Regions from separate parts of the Homo sapiens genome. Here region 1 is linked to region 2. Evidence: promoter capture Hi-C in human tissues and cell types (Jung and others, 2019). All regions are on one chromosome and are shown on one strand. Each heading gives the region's core, a stretch centred on a gene start or on the middle of the fragment in contact. The rest is flanking DNA. Distances are from core to core; before and after follow the strand shown. Region 1 overlaps MAD1L1 (mitotic arrest deficient 1 like 1). Region 2 holds the start of PSMG3 (proteasome assembly chaperone 3).

The links. The method cuts DNA at HindIII sites, captures the fragments that hold promoters and counts their contacts. A contact is called where the count stands out against the background at its distance.
Region 1: a fragment that was not itself captured here is called in contact with the fragment with the promoter of PSMG3 in region 2 in 1 of the 25 tissues and cell types used here (spleen).

Annotation. Positions count from the first base shown.
Region 1 is chr7:2,027,611-2,035,121 of GRCh38, forward strand. The region is part of intron 12 of MAD1L1 (mitotic arrest deficient 1 like 1); the gene reads right to left. Among named protein-coding and RNA genes, the nearest start is that of SNORA114, 58 kb to the right of the region's middle. RefSeq lists enhancers at 3,802-4,483, 5,166-5,845. The HindIII fragment of the contact is 6,845 bases long and covers 1,846-7,511 here.
Region 2 is chr7:1,566,907-1,573,635 of GRCh38, forward strand. PSMG3 (proteasome assembly chaperone 3) reads right to left here and starts at 3,126. Exons shown (of 2, transcript NM_032302.4): 1 at 2,218-3,126; 2 at 426-944. The coding sequence starts at 2,433. The coding sequence ends at 792. It overlaps PSMG3-AS1 (PSMG3 antisense RNA 1), which reads left to right and starts at 3,167. Exons shown (of 5, transcript NR_027329.1): 1 at 3,167-3,373. RefSeq lists enhancers at 12-580, 407-701, 2,856-3,424, 4,048-4,117, 4,128-4,177 and 1 more and silencers at 2,798-3,227, 3,668-3,747. The HindIII fragment of the contact is 18,965 bases long and covers 1-4,082 here.

The sequences.
Region 1 (7,511 bases), core at 4,018-6,517, 460 kb after region 2:
ATATTTGCAGAAAAGGCATTTGATTAAAATTCAACATCTATTCACGATAAAAACTATGAAACAAAACAAAAGCAAAACCCTCTTGGCAAATGAGGAATAGGGAGAACTTTAATCTGAAAAGGATTTCCTTACTAAAGTCGTCAGCACGATCTTTAACAGTGAAATGTTGAAAGCTTTTCTTCTGATGATGCAAAACAAACACCAGCTATCAGCATGTCTGTCCAAAGCAGCACTGGCTATGCTAAGCCACAGATAAGAAGAGGCATGAAAGGTACGAAGATCAAGAAGACAATGAAAGCTATTATTAAATCACTCAATTATGAACATAGAAAAGTCAATATAATCTACAAATAAATTATTAAAATAAGTAGATTTAGCAATGCTGCAGGACCAAAGTTAATAATCAAAGTCCAATTAGATTTCTACATTATTATTCAAAGCACAAACATTATTATTCAAAACAACAAAACCCATGATATGTCCACCCAGAAAACATTATGAAACAATTTCGAGAGAAAATAAGTATGACCTAAGGCCGGGCGCGGTGACTCACGCCTGTAATCCCAGCACTTTGGGAGGCCGAGGCAGGCGGATTACGAGGTCAGGAGATCGAGACCATCCTGGCTAACACGGCGAAACCCCGTCTCCACTAAAAATACAAAAAATTAGCCGGGCGTGGTGGTGGGCGCCTGTAGTCCCAGCTACTCGGGAGGCTGAGGCAAGAGAATGGCGCGAACCCAGGAGGCAGAGCTTGCAGTGAGCCGAGATCATGCCATTGCACTCCAGCCTGGGCGACAGAGCAAGACTCCATCTCAAAAAAAAAAAAAAAAAAAAGTATGACCTAAACACATGTTAGCATATAGTACGTCCATGGATTAGAAGATTCAATATTGTGCAGATGTCATTTAATCAATGCATTCTCAATAAAAACTCTAGCAAGTCCACTGGTGAGACTGACAGGTTGAGCTGTAAAATCTACGTGAAGAGGCGGATGGCCAGGTAGAGCCAGGGCAGCCCTGATGCAGACAAGCAGAGAGGGCCACCCTATCAGGTAACGAGACTCTAACATTCTCAGGAATTGAAACTTGTGGTTTTGCCAAAAAGAGATGAACACACCAACGAAACAATACAGATTCCAGAAACAGCCAATACAGACAGAGCCACCTCACGTGAAGGTGTAACCAGCACTGTGGCACAGGCGGAAGGAGCAGCTTTGCAGTAAGGAGTGCTGAGTCCACTGGATACCCACGTTGACAAGAAAAATGAAAAAAAAAATAAGGCTTCACACAGTGCAACAAGGCTGCGCAGGGCAACAAGGCTGCGCAGTGCCACGGTCAGTGTGAAGAAGCAAAGCCACCAAGAAGACAGGAGTGAAACCCTGGAACAACCTGGAGGGTGGCGAAGCTTTCTTAAACAGGACACACACAAATCACAACCACAAAGGGAGGTAAAGATTGATAAATTAGATTTCATTCAAATTAAGAATTTCTGTTTAGAGTGTGAAAAGCTGCTACAGAATGAGAGGAGACATTTGAAATACAAATACCTAACAAAAGATGATATAATCTCCCATTCTGTAGTGTTAGTCACAGTAGCCAAGAAATAAAGAAATTCAAACGCCCATTCACAGAAAATTTTAAAAATTATGACGTGATATACCCATAAGATAGAAATGAAATAACACAGCAACAGAAACCAAACACGAAAGATTACACGCTGCATGGCTCCATTTCACAACATTTTTAAATGGGCAGAACTGGCGTGTGAGAATCGGGAAGGCAGGGCTTTGGGGGAGGTGGAGGAGCCGGCAGGTGAACTTGGGAGCCCTGGTGACACCGTGTTCCCGACCGTGGAGCTGAGACATGGATGGACTGATTTCATCATAGCCCTCTAAGATGTACTCTCAGGACAAAGCACTTTCTGTATGTCTGTTATGCTCTAATAAAAAGATTAAAAGGCAGTAATTTTTTTTTTTAAACGGAACTCCATAATTTGAAGAGCTTGGCTGTGGTTGTAAGTCCCATTTACAAACAGCTCAGGGCAAACACACTCAGATGGAACCGTGAGCCCAACTCGGACTCCAGAGGCCTGGAGGCCTAACTTTCTGGCAGTGGGAGAGCAAGGGCGGTGGGAGTTGGTGGCAGGCGCAGGGCACTCTGCATGACACACCCAGGGCAGCAGAAGAGGAGGAGCCCAGCAAGTTTCTAGGCAAGAGAGTGATTGATAGAGGGTAATTTGAGGTTGATGTGCGAGTTATGATTACAATGAAATGAGAGAGGGGAAAAGCTTCAGATGGAGCTGAAGAGAAGTAAAAATCCAAGGAACAGAAACAAGATCATCCCTAGCGCCCAGACACGAGTGCCAGGAGAAAGGTCTCTGGAAAGGGCAGATGCTGGCTGTCCCCTCCTACACAGTCCTGTGGACACCGGGCTCACCACATTCAGGGAGCAGATGGAAATCGAGTCTTTGGCCCAAGCTGCTCCCCGTGTAATCCTAGCCTCATTTCTGCAGGGCACCCCTGGCTGGCAGAGAGTGCCCCAGAAACGCGGAACCCAGAGCTGTGTACAGGTGCATGTCCGCTACGCCCCGCCCCGCGCTCCACGGAAGGTCCACACACAGCCTGAGGAGGTTCCCCCAGCCCACAGTGACGCCCGGGGTGGAGGTCACAAAGTTTTCAGAGTCATCCAAACTCATTACCTTGCTAACTGGGTAAAAAGTCCAGTTCAATGGATGGTGACTGAATTAGAGGGCGATTGTAACAGAATGCAATTCTACTATTAATAATTTCCGTATAGCAGCTCGAACAAAGCACTGACAAAGTGTCACCAAATGCATTTCTTGCTTCACTTCTTTCATGAACAGATAAGGCTAATTCACTTGCTTACGCTAATTAGAGCCTGTTACACGCGGGCCCCTGAACAGCCTTGATGTGCAGAGGCCCCTGGGTAAGCCAGGGCGCCAGTGACAGGTGGCCGGACCCCGCAGGAGTGGAACCTGCCCATCTGCGCTTGACGAAAATGCCTCCAAAACAAACCAGACGCCGCCCCGGCAGAGGAAACTGAGAATGAGGAGAAACGGTCTCTTTTCCCGATGAAAGGGTTCTCTGTAATGGGCACCAATGACCAGGTTTTGAAGGGCAATACTGTGGGTCAGCGAGGGTTTCCGGGGCCCCGTGGGAGGCGCCCTGCTGTCAGACGCGTTTCTGTCCTCCTCAGCCCCCAACCTGCGCCTGGTGCTCTCGGCCAACCTTGCTCAGAGCTTGATGATACCATGTCTCTCCCTTGTTCCCATTCCATCCTCTCTGTTCTTCCTCATTTTTGCCTCAAGTTCCACAAGTCTCATTACAAGGTTATCTTATCTGACCAATAAACCCGGTTTACTGTTGACAAAGCTCTATTTCTGCTGGGCGACTGGATTCGGAGGAGCCCCCAGGAGAAAAAACGGTCCCCAGCCTTCAGCAGCATCCTCCCTCCAGCAGCCAGCTGTGCATTCTCCATGAACTGCACCTACGCGAGCTCTCCTGAAGGCAGCAGGAGGCTGAACACCAGGCCGCTCAGAGAGGAAGCACGGGGTCCTCTCCCACTACTCACCCCTCTGCCTGCAGCTGCACCAGGCACACAGAGCACGCTCCCTTCCCTGCCCCACAGCTGTCTTGGGGTTACCCTCAGCCAGCTCCTCCTCTGGCTTCCTGCCGTCACACCCTCCCCACTGGCCTCCACCACCCACGTGTAGCTGTGGGGGAGGGGGAAAAGGGGCTGTTCTGGGCTCCCCACCAGCAAGCCTGGTTTTTACAATTTCAACCTCTGATAAAAAGCTCTACAACACCTATTGTAGGAAGGAGTGGAATCAATTATGATTTCCCGAGGCAATTTTACTTACATTTCACACTGCTCTATGACAAATTCCACTTCATTTGTGTTCGCTGTATAAATGCATTCCCCAGCATCCACCTGAACCAGCACCAGCCTTGTTACAGCAGCTGCTCACACCTGCGCTATGACGACGTGGGTGCCGTGCACATCTGGGAGGGCACTGGGACCATCCTGACAGGAAGCCATACCCAAGCCACAGTGGCTGCAGACGGCCCCTCACCAGGGAGGAGGACGTGACCCTCGCAAGGTCTCGCCAGCATGCCTGACCCACGCGGATATGGGGCCATGGGCCTGAGACAGGCCCTGTGCCGCATGGCTCTATTTTGAGTGCAGTTTATTTGACAGGACAGGGAGAAAGGAGAGCAGGGCAACGTGGGAAACAGACAGCACAGTGGAGTCACGGCTCTGGGGCCACTACTCAGCCTGAGCAGTCAGACGGGTTCCTTTCCTCTCTAGGCCTCCAGCGTTCCTATCAGCAAAACAGGGAATTAGATGGACTTGGTCTTCTACAGTTCAAAAATCTTACAGTGCTGCAAAGTCTAGGTGGCTTTCTCCACCGACGGGTAACAGGCAGGCAGCCAGTGCCCAGGGTGCCAGGCACACTCCGGGCCTTGTGCCAAGGAGTTTCCATGCATCAGCTCCCTGACCCCTCATTCATGCGGGACGCCCGGCCCCAGTCCCTGTCCAGTGCCTGGAACAGAACAGGTGCTCAGGAACTGTGTGTTCAATTAAAAAATGAACGAGTGAAACCATCAGCCAATCAGTCCTCGGAACCACCTCCTGAGGCAGGCTGGAGTCCTCCCTTTCAGATGAGGACAAGGCTCCAGGGGAAGGCGCGCGCCCCAGGTCTCCAGCCTCCGTGAAGCCGAGCCTGGGCTCTTGGCCATCATGCTAACGGGCAGGTGGGAAAGCGCTTGCCCAGCCCTGGGCTCTAATAGCTACCTAAAGCCCCCGGGCAGCAGTGACCCCACGAGTCCTGAAAAGATTTGGTGCACATCCATGGCCAGGGGCAGGCCATTACCCAAACAGCTCTGACATCAGGGTCCTTCCTCAACTGAAAGCTCATCTCAGCTGGGGAGAGCTGGCCTTGCCTTCGTCTCCTTCAGAGCTGTGCTGGGCTGAGTGGGGCCAGAAATCAGCATGAGGAGAATTCAAAACAAGATGACTCGCCCATGGGAAGTACCTCCCACCAGGCTCGAGGGACCCTGTGCTGCTTCTGGCATTTTGAATTCGCGCCCAGGGCTGTGGGCTCCCACCAGGGTCAGGCCAGCTCCTAGCAAGTGGTGAGGGGGGTGGCGCCGGCCTGCTCTCCCAGAACTCAGCCTGGAGAGGGAGGCAGACGTGAGCACTGTAAGAACAGGCGAGGACAGGCAGGGCACTCAGGGAGCCCCACACCAGGAAGGAAGACCCACTCTGCACACAGGGAGAGTGTGCATGGGGCAGGGGGGCAAGGCGCCCCCGCAGAAGGACGTGGAGAGGGCACCAGCTGAGAAGATGCCCCCAGCCCACTGGTATCACGTGTCTACTGCCTTCTTGGGGTACAGCAGCGTGGGCTGAGGACACCCAGCTGACGCTGCCACTGACTGGCCATGATAAACAGACGCAGAACTCCGAGAGCTCACGCTCCCAGCCCAGCACCCCACTCATACACTCGCCAGCCAGGCACCACGTGCCAGGCCCTGTGCTGGCCAGGAGGTGGGCCCTTCGATCATCCCATTCTCACAGAGACAGCCCGGGTGCTGCAGGTGTGAGTAACGCACCCCGGGGGCACAGAACACCTGGGTGCGGAGCCCCAGTTTGAACCAGCCCAGATGACCCGGTCACCCCTGCCCTCGCCTGCTTCACTGCACTAGAACTAAAGGAAACAAGATGGATACTCCATGGAGCAAGGCCCTGAAAGGCTGTGGGCCCCGAAGCAGTGGAAGGAATGACAGAGAAAGACCAGCACGCTTCGCCACACCAACACCTCCGTGGGTCCCAAAACGCCACTTAAAAACACAAAAGGTAAAAGACAAACTGGGGAAAACGTGCCACAAATACATGAAAACCTTTTACAAATCAATAGGAAAATCACTAACACGGTAATAGAAAACTGGGAAAAATCAACAATCAACAGAAGAAACGTAACTGACAAACACAAAATTCATTAAGACCCGTTCCTCACCTGGAGTGGCAAGAAGTAAAATGCTAACACTCAGCACGAGTGAGGCCATGAGGGCTGCACGCTACACCTGCTGGGACAGCAGTCACGGGCGCTTCTGGAAAACGAGTCAGCAAAACTGGCCAAGGGTCCTGAAGGTGTTCACACCCTTCCACTCAGTAACAATTGCCTAAAAAGTAATCAGACTGCGGTGGCTCACACCTGCAATCCCAGCACTGTGAGAGGCCGAGGCAGGAGAATCACCTGAGACCAGCCTGGGCAACATAGTGAGACCCCATCTCTACAAAAAAAATTTTTTTTTAATTAGCCAGGCGGGGCGGCATGCACCTATAGTCCCAGCTACTGGGGAGGCTCAGGCAGGAGGATATATTGAGCCCTGGAGTTCAAGACTGCAGTGAGCCAAGATGGCGCCACCACATTGCAGCCTGGGCGACAGAGCAAGACCCTGTGTCTAAACAAATAAATAAATAACAAATGAATCAGATATGGGGAAAGCACTGAGTCCAAGGATGTTGCACACATTAGCAATAATCATGAAAAAATTAAAAACAAAGCTAAATTTCCAATAAAGAGTCTCCTTTTTTTTTTTTTTGGAGACGGAGTCTCGCTGTCGCCCAGGCTGGAGTGCAATGGTGTGATCTAGGCTCACAGCAACCTTTGTCTCCCGGGTTCAAGCGATTCTCCTGCCTCAGCCTCCTGAGTAGGTGGGACTACAGGCACACACCACCACGCCCAGCTAATTTTTTGTATTTTAGTAGAGACGGGGTTTCACCGTGTTGCCCAGGCTGGTCCGAACTCCTGAGCTCAGGCAATCCACCCGTCTCAGCCTCCCAAAGTGCTAGGATTACAGGCATGAGCCACCGCAGCCGGCCAAGAGTTTACTTTTGGTATGTCTACACGAAGAAACATCGTACAGCCAAAAAAGATTTTATTTTCAAGGAATGCTTAATGGCACAGGCACTGGCTGCAATAAAATGTCACAAGTGCAGGAAGCACACAAGGCTGCCAGCTCTGCCACAGCAGTCCCCACACTCGGCTGCCTCCATGGCACCTGCGCACGTGGGTGTCCGTGAGTGCTTACTGGTTGGCTGATAGATTGGCTGAATGAATGAACAGGGGAGGAAAGGAGAGAAGGGAGACGTGGAGATGAAATGCATGCCATGTTCTTGGTGCTACCTCTGGGTGCAGGAGTCAAGGTCTTTTTCAATGGCCTCTTTATACTTTTTGATCAGTCCCCAAGCTTTGCACATGTCCAGTGTCACAGTCAAAGAGGGCTGCATGTTTTAAGAGTCCAGTGGTCAGAGCACTCACACCCATGTACTCCGCAGACCCAAACCTGAGGCCCAGCAGCACAGGGGGCCACAAGTCCACACTGGGGCTGGCCCCACAGAGGCGGGAGCTCAGGGAGGGACACAAACTCCACAGGGAAGCCAACAACAGATGCCTCATTTCTGAATAAAGAAATGCCAGACACGATG
Region 2 (6,729 bases), core at 1,876-4,375:
AGGTCATGTTCAGCCACACCCCAGTGAACCCTGGCGACCCACCCCACAGTGCCCTGCCCTCCCGTGCTCCTCTCTCCTGACCTCTGTGCACGCTGCTCCCTTGACAGAAGCGTCCCCCCTCCCTTGCTATGCAGGATTCAGAGGACAGCGTCTGTCCCCAGCTGCAGCACGGTAACGGGCACACACATTAAGATAGTAAGAGATGTCCGCTGACGGCCACCAGCTTCCCAGCAGGCTCAGAGAAGTTACTGGAGTTGGAGCTGGGTGACAGCGTGCACAGGCCCAAGCATGGGATCCACCCAGTTCCTGGGAACTACGTCCCTCTGCGTTTCTGCCCAACAAGCTTCCCTTCATGAAGCCCATGAAACTGAACTCATGCTGTGCGGCTGCAATGTCTCGCTACTGTTAAGGAGGACAGTGAAGTATTTTGGGATACACATTCGCTTTTAATAAAAAAGAAATTTCCTCCTACAATTGATCCTGCACACGGGGGGGCCATGAGCCACGCCTGCTGACTCATTCCTCCAATTCTCAAACACAAGCAACGATTCAGGTCCTGGTGAGAACCATTCACGACTCCTCCGGGACCTGTTCCACCCTCCCCGTCATGCACAGATGATCTTAGTAACCAGAGTAAGAGTCTGCCTGAGACACGAGTCTTTTTTCCTGGCTCCAAGGGCTAGTGCCAAAGTTCCTCCCTCCACCGGGGAGGGAGGTGAGACTTGAGTCCCTGAGTGGGTGTCTGGGTGTTCACGTGTCCTGCTGAGCAGCGCGGGGCGGCTGCCTCCAGGTCACCACACCTGGCACACCCGGATCACCTCCCTCAGCGCCTTCAGCCCCTCCATGCTTTTGTCCTTCACGGCCACGGCGAGGAGGACTGCTCTGTTTCCAGCTTCTTGAGACACAAACGCTACCAGGTTCTTTGCAAAGACATGGATGAGAGGCTGGTAAAGGAAGGAGAAGAAACCATTTTAACTGCAAGAAACCTGGTTTTTTCCTCAATGCTTTCATGAAGTATCCCTTAGGAACCCAGGCAGGCTTCCCACACCACCATTAACCGCCACATAAGTCCATGCAACTGTGACTCAGAGTTCTGGCAGCACTCAGAACACTCCAGTCACGGGCACACTGCTAAAGACCATCACTCCATTCATTTTCCCAGCGCCTTCCGCAGCCCCGCCTCTTCTGGCTCTCTCTCATCTAAAAGAACCCAGGAAAGAGAAGCCTGCAGAAGCGAGTGCTGTCGAATCTCACGTGTGATCTCCACAGAGCACAGCACAGCCAGCCGCCTGCTCACGTAATGTACCATGGCAGGGGAGGCGGCTCGAATGACAAAACTGCTGCTTCTGCTTGTCTGCTGGATAAAATGCCTGCGGGCTGGACAAAGCATCCACTGAGGGCAAGCAGGGCGCCTTGAGACCCACAAATGCCCGGAAAATGCTATCGCTGTAGGGGTATTTGTCCGCCAGATGCCCCATGTCCTTACTGACAAATCACAGCCACTGGAGAGGTTTATGCTCCTCCCTGGGGGTCCCTTCCTGACCACTTTATTATTATTATTATTATTATTATTATTAAAGACAGAGTCTTGCTCTCTCACCCAGGCTGGAGCGCAGTGGCACAATCATGGCTCACTGCAGCCTCAACCTCCAGGGCTCAAGCCATCCTCCCACCTCAGCCTCCCAAGTAGCTGGGAGCACAGGCACACACCACTAGGCCCAGCTAATTTTTTGTTTCCTTTTCTTTTCCTTTTTTTTTTAAGACCAAGTCTCTATCTGTTACCCAGGCTGGAGTGCTGTGGCACGATCTTAGCTCACTGCAACCTCCGCCTCTCGGGTTCAAGCGATTCTTCTGCCTCAGCCTCCTGAGTAGCTGAGATTACAGGCATGTGCCACCACACCCAGCTAATTTTTATATTTTTCGTAGAAATGGGGTTTCCCCATGTTGGCCAGGCTGGTCTGGAACTTCTGACCTTAAGTGATCTGCCCGCCTCAGCCTCCCAAAGTGCTGGGATTACAGGTGTGAGCCACTGCACCCAGCCTCTCTCTATATATATATTTTGTGTAGGCACTTGTTTTTTTGTAGTGACTTGTGTGTGTGTTGTTGTGTTGCCCAGGCTGGTTTCAAACTCCTGGCCTCAAGCGATCTGCCCGCCTAGGCCTCTGAAAGTGCTAGGGTTACAGGCGTGAGCCACAGTTCCCGGCCAATCCACTTTACCTCATCCTGCCCCAGAAGGACTTTTGTGGTGAGCACAGGCTTGCTGACGTCACTGGCCACGCTGCTGGGCTCCAGGGAGACCAGGGTGCCCATCTTCCCAAACTGGGTCACCACCACCAGGATGTGACTGCTGAAGGCCGTACACACCACCTGGGTGGGGACCCCGCACACCACCTCCGTCTTCTGCTTCGATATCACCAACGGCGTGTCTTCCATGGCGGGGCTCTGCAGTGGCAGCTTTAATTTAGGTTAAAAAGAAAGGGGAAAAAAAGGAGTCAATCAAACAGTACAGCCTTGGGGCTCCCAAAAAAGTAGCACGGGGCATTGAAACGGAAACGCAAGGAGGCCCATTCAAAAGAAGGGGCCAGGCGCGGTGGCTCATGCCTGTCATCCCGGCACTTTGGGAGGCCGAGACAGGACGATCGTTGAGGCCAGGAATTCGAGACCAGCCTGGCCAACATAGCGAGACCCCCATCTCTACCAAAAAAAAAAAAAAAAAAAACCAGCAGGGCGCGCCTGTGGTCCCAGTTACTCAGGAGGCTGAGGCGGGAAGATCGCTTCAGCCCGGGAGGTCGAGGCTGCGGTGAGCCGTGATCACACCATTGCATTACAACCCGGGCGGTAGAGCGAGACCCTGTCCGTAAAAAAATAAAACAGAAGCAGGAGCGGGGCCGCCCATAGAGACCGCGCCTGGGGCTTTCTGGGTTAGGGGATCGACTTGCACGTTCACACTGCCAGGCCGGGCAGTGGCTTCCCGCCCCTCGGCCTCGCCGCCGCCCCGGCCCTGCAGCCGCGGCCCGGGACCCCCACGACACGCGGTGCCGAGGCCGGCCGGGCTACTGGGGACGCAGCCGCCCGGGGAAGCCCGCGGGTACCCGCGCTCACCAAGCCGGCGCCGCGCCCGGAAGTGGCTCTGCGTGCGCCACGCGGGCCCGCCCCGTCCGCGGGTTCCGTCCACCTTCCGGAAGTCAGGGCCGCGGCGCTTCTGGTCCCGGAGACTTGGGGCTCCCGGGCTTCTGAGCGGCTCGGGTTCCGCGCTGCCGGCAGGGCTTGGGGGCGCCTTAGAGCCGAACCCCGTTTTTTCAGGAAAGGGCGCTGCGACCACCCCCGTCCCGGGCCTCAGCCCCTCTGCTGCAGACCCTCGGGATCGTCGCTGGTAGGAGCTCTGTCCCCCGTGTCTGTGTCCAGGACCCCCGAAGCGCCGCGCCTAGGAACCCCCTAGCGCTGGGAGCCCGGCCCTGCTCGACCACGGGCTTTGGGCTGGAGGCGTCATCGTCGCCACAGCGAACGCTTATTTGGCACCGAGTGTCCGCCAGGCATCGCTCTAAGCGCTTTATACCCATAACTCACTTCATCTCAGCCACCCGGTTCCGTAGAAGCGTTTCATCCGCGTTTTACAGACGTGTGCAGGTGCAGAGAGCTCGGCCAGGCTCAGGCGGCGGGCGGGCTGGGGTGGGCTCCGACCGTCCCTCGGGCGCTCCGTGACACGAAGCCCCGGCCAAGGCCAAGAAGGGGGCCAGCCCCACCCTGAAGCGGGATGAGTTCTGGTTCCTCCCAGGGACCCCCTCACTCCCTACTGCTCACTCTCAGTTTCTCCAAGCTGGAAGGTTTTTTGTTTTGTTTTGTTTGAGACGGAGTCTTGCTGTGTCACCCAGGCTGGAGTGCAGTGGCGCGATCTCGGCTCACTGCAGCCTCCGCCTCCCTGGTTCAAGCAATTCTCCTGCCTCAGCCTCCTGTGTAGCTGGGATTACAGGCGTGCGCCACCAGGCCCGGCTAACTTTTTAAATTTTTAGTAGAGATGGGGTTTCACCATGTCGGTCAGGCTGGTCTTGAACTCCTGACCTCAGGTGATCTGCCTTCCTCGGCCTCCCAAAGTGCTGGGATTACAGGCGTGAGCCACCGCGCCCCGCTGCTGGAAGTTTTATTGGTAGGGTCGGACATCTTGGTAGCAGAGGCTGAAAGTGATTGGAGCCTCCAGAGCCTTCCTCGGGGTGGGGCGTTTAACATCCCTTCAGAACCCCACCCTCGGAGGCCTTACTGTCGTTTCCTGACAACCATGTCAAGGCCGTATTTTCTGTCTATATTACCAGAAAGGGGTCCCGATCCAGACCCCAAGAGAGAATTGAGGGCGAGTCCACAAAGTGAAAGCAAGTTTATTAGAAAAGTAAAGGAATTGAGGCAGGAAAACAGGGTCTGGAGGCAGGGAACACTTCAGCTATGACAGGAAATACCCTCTCCATAGGGTGTACACTGAGTAAATGATTTTGTAACTTTATTTCATCCTCTTTATTTACATAGGGCGTACACCAAGTAACCAGTAGAAACCCCTAGAGGGTATTTAAACCTCACAAGTTCTGTAATGGGGCCCTGAGCCTCTATGCTTTGGCCGCCCCCACACCATGGAATGTACTTTCATTTTCAAAAAATTTCTGCTTTTGTTGCTTCATTCTTTTTTTGCTTTGTGCATTTTTTTTTTTTTGAGACAGAGTCTCTGTTGTCCATGCTGGAGTGCAGTGGCGTGATCCTCACTGCAACCTCTGCCTCCCGGGTTCAAGCAATTCTCCTGCCTCAGCCTCCTGAGTAGCTGAGATTACAGACGTGCGTCACCATGCCCGGCTAACTTTTGTGTTTTTAGTAGAGACGAGGTTTCGCCATGTTGGCCAGGCTGGTCTTGAACTCCTGACCTCAGGTGATCTGCCCGCCTCGGCCTCCCAAAGTGCTGGGATTATAGGTGTGAGCCACCGCGCCCGGTGGCTTTGTGCATTTTGTCCAATTCTTTGTTCAAGATGCCAAGAACCTGGACACCCTCCACCAGTAACAGAATAAAGAATGGCTACTCCATAGGCAGAGCAGCATGGGCTGCTGGTTGCCCATTTTTGTGGTTATTTCTTGATGATATGCTAAACAAGGGGTGGATTATTCGTGCCTTACCTTTTTAAACCCTTTAGGGTAACGTCCTGGCATTGCTATGGCATTTGTAAACTTACGGCGCTGGTGGGAGTGTAGCAGCTGGGACGACCAGAGGTCACACTCATCGCCATGTTGGTTTGGTGGGTTTTGGTCAGCTTCTTTACTGCAAACTGTTTTATCAGTAAGGTCTTTATGACCTGTAGCTTGTGCCGACCTCTTATCTCATCCTGTGACATAGAATGCCTTAACTGTCTGGGAATGCAGCCCAGCAGATCTCAGCCTCATTTTACCCAGCCCCTATTCAAGATGAAGTTGCTCTGGTTCAAACACCTCTGACATTTACACCACTGAAGCTCCAAGGAAGATCTTGACTCCCTCTTCTCACCATTTGATGACTTCGTATCCAATCCAAGTCAAGTCAAATGAAGCATGCTCCTTCCAATGATGATTTCTGGAGGCCTAAAATAAAAAGCATGCATACAGAAAATGATCAAAATAGACATAAATCAAGGGGAAATTCATTTTTGAGCATTCTTGCAGCCAGTACACAAAAGGAGAGATGATGAGTTTCATGGTTCTAATACTCAAAAAACAGGAAGCATATCAACTTCCCAGGAAAGTCTAAGTTTCTGTCGGCTCTAAATTTAAACACACATCCACCCACACATACCCCACAAGCAAATTGCCAGTGGATTGCTTTGCCATCTGAAATCTTCAAAAGGTTCACTCGCTTTTATTCACCTGTTTGTGTATTCTCCCTCTCTGTAGGCAAATAGATACAAGAAATCTGATCCTGTCCTCTCAAAGAAAACCCTCTGAAATAAACTTATCACCTTTAAAAAAGGGATGTTGAAGAACAAGATGGATTTTTGTTGTTGTTGTCGTTTTTTGAGATGGAGTCTCGCTCTTGTCGTCCAGGCCGGAATGCGGTGGTGCGATCTCGGCTCACTGCAACCTCCGCCTCCCAGGTTTAAGCGATTCCCCTACCTCAGCCTCATGAGTAGCTAGGATTATAGGCACCTGCCACCACGCCCGGCTAATTTTTGTATTTTTAGTAGAGACTGGGTTTCGCCATGTTGGCCAGGCTGGTCTCAATCTCCTGACCTCAGGTGATCTGCCCGCCTCGGCCTCCCAAAGTGCTGGGATTACAGACGTGAGCACCCAGCCTGGATGTTGTTTTTGATGACACTGCTAAGCACTTATGTGAGGGATTGTTTGGGTGGTTTGGGTCTAGATCTAAGATAAAGACAGTAGGAAAGAAATGAGAGGTGGAAGGTTGTCCTAGGCTGAGGTGGTGGTCCAGGGACTTTCTGGCAGCCTGGATGGATGCCTGGGCAGAATTTATATATCTAGAAGAATGGAAGAGGACCTCATTGCATGCCATTGACTGTTCTCCAGTACCCAAGGGTAAAGGAACTGGAAAGAAAGACTCACTCAAGTGCATTCACATAAAATGGGAATCTAATAGTAATGGTGCCAATTGTGGGGCAAAGAGTTCAAGGAGTTATTTTGAAAAATGAAAAAAAAAGCAAAGTATCTTAAATTTGTCTTATATTCAATAAATTGTCGGTGATAATGCTATGGTGTGTGCATTTGTAGAAC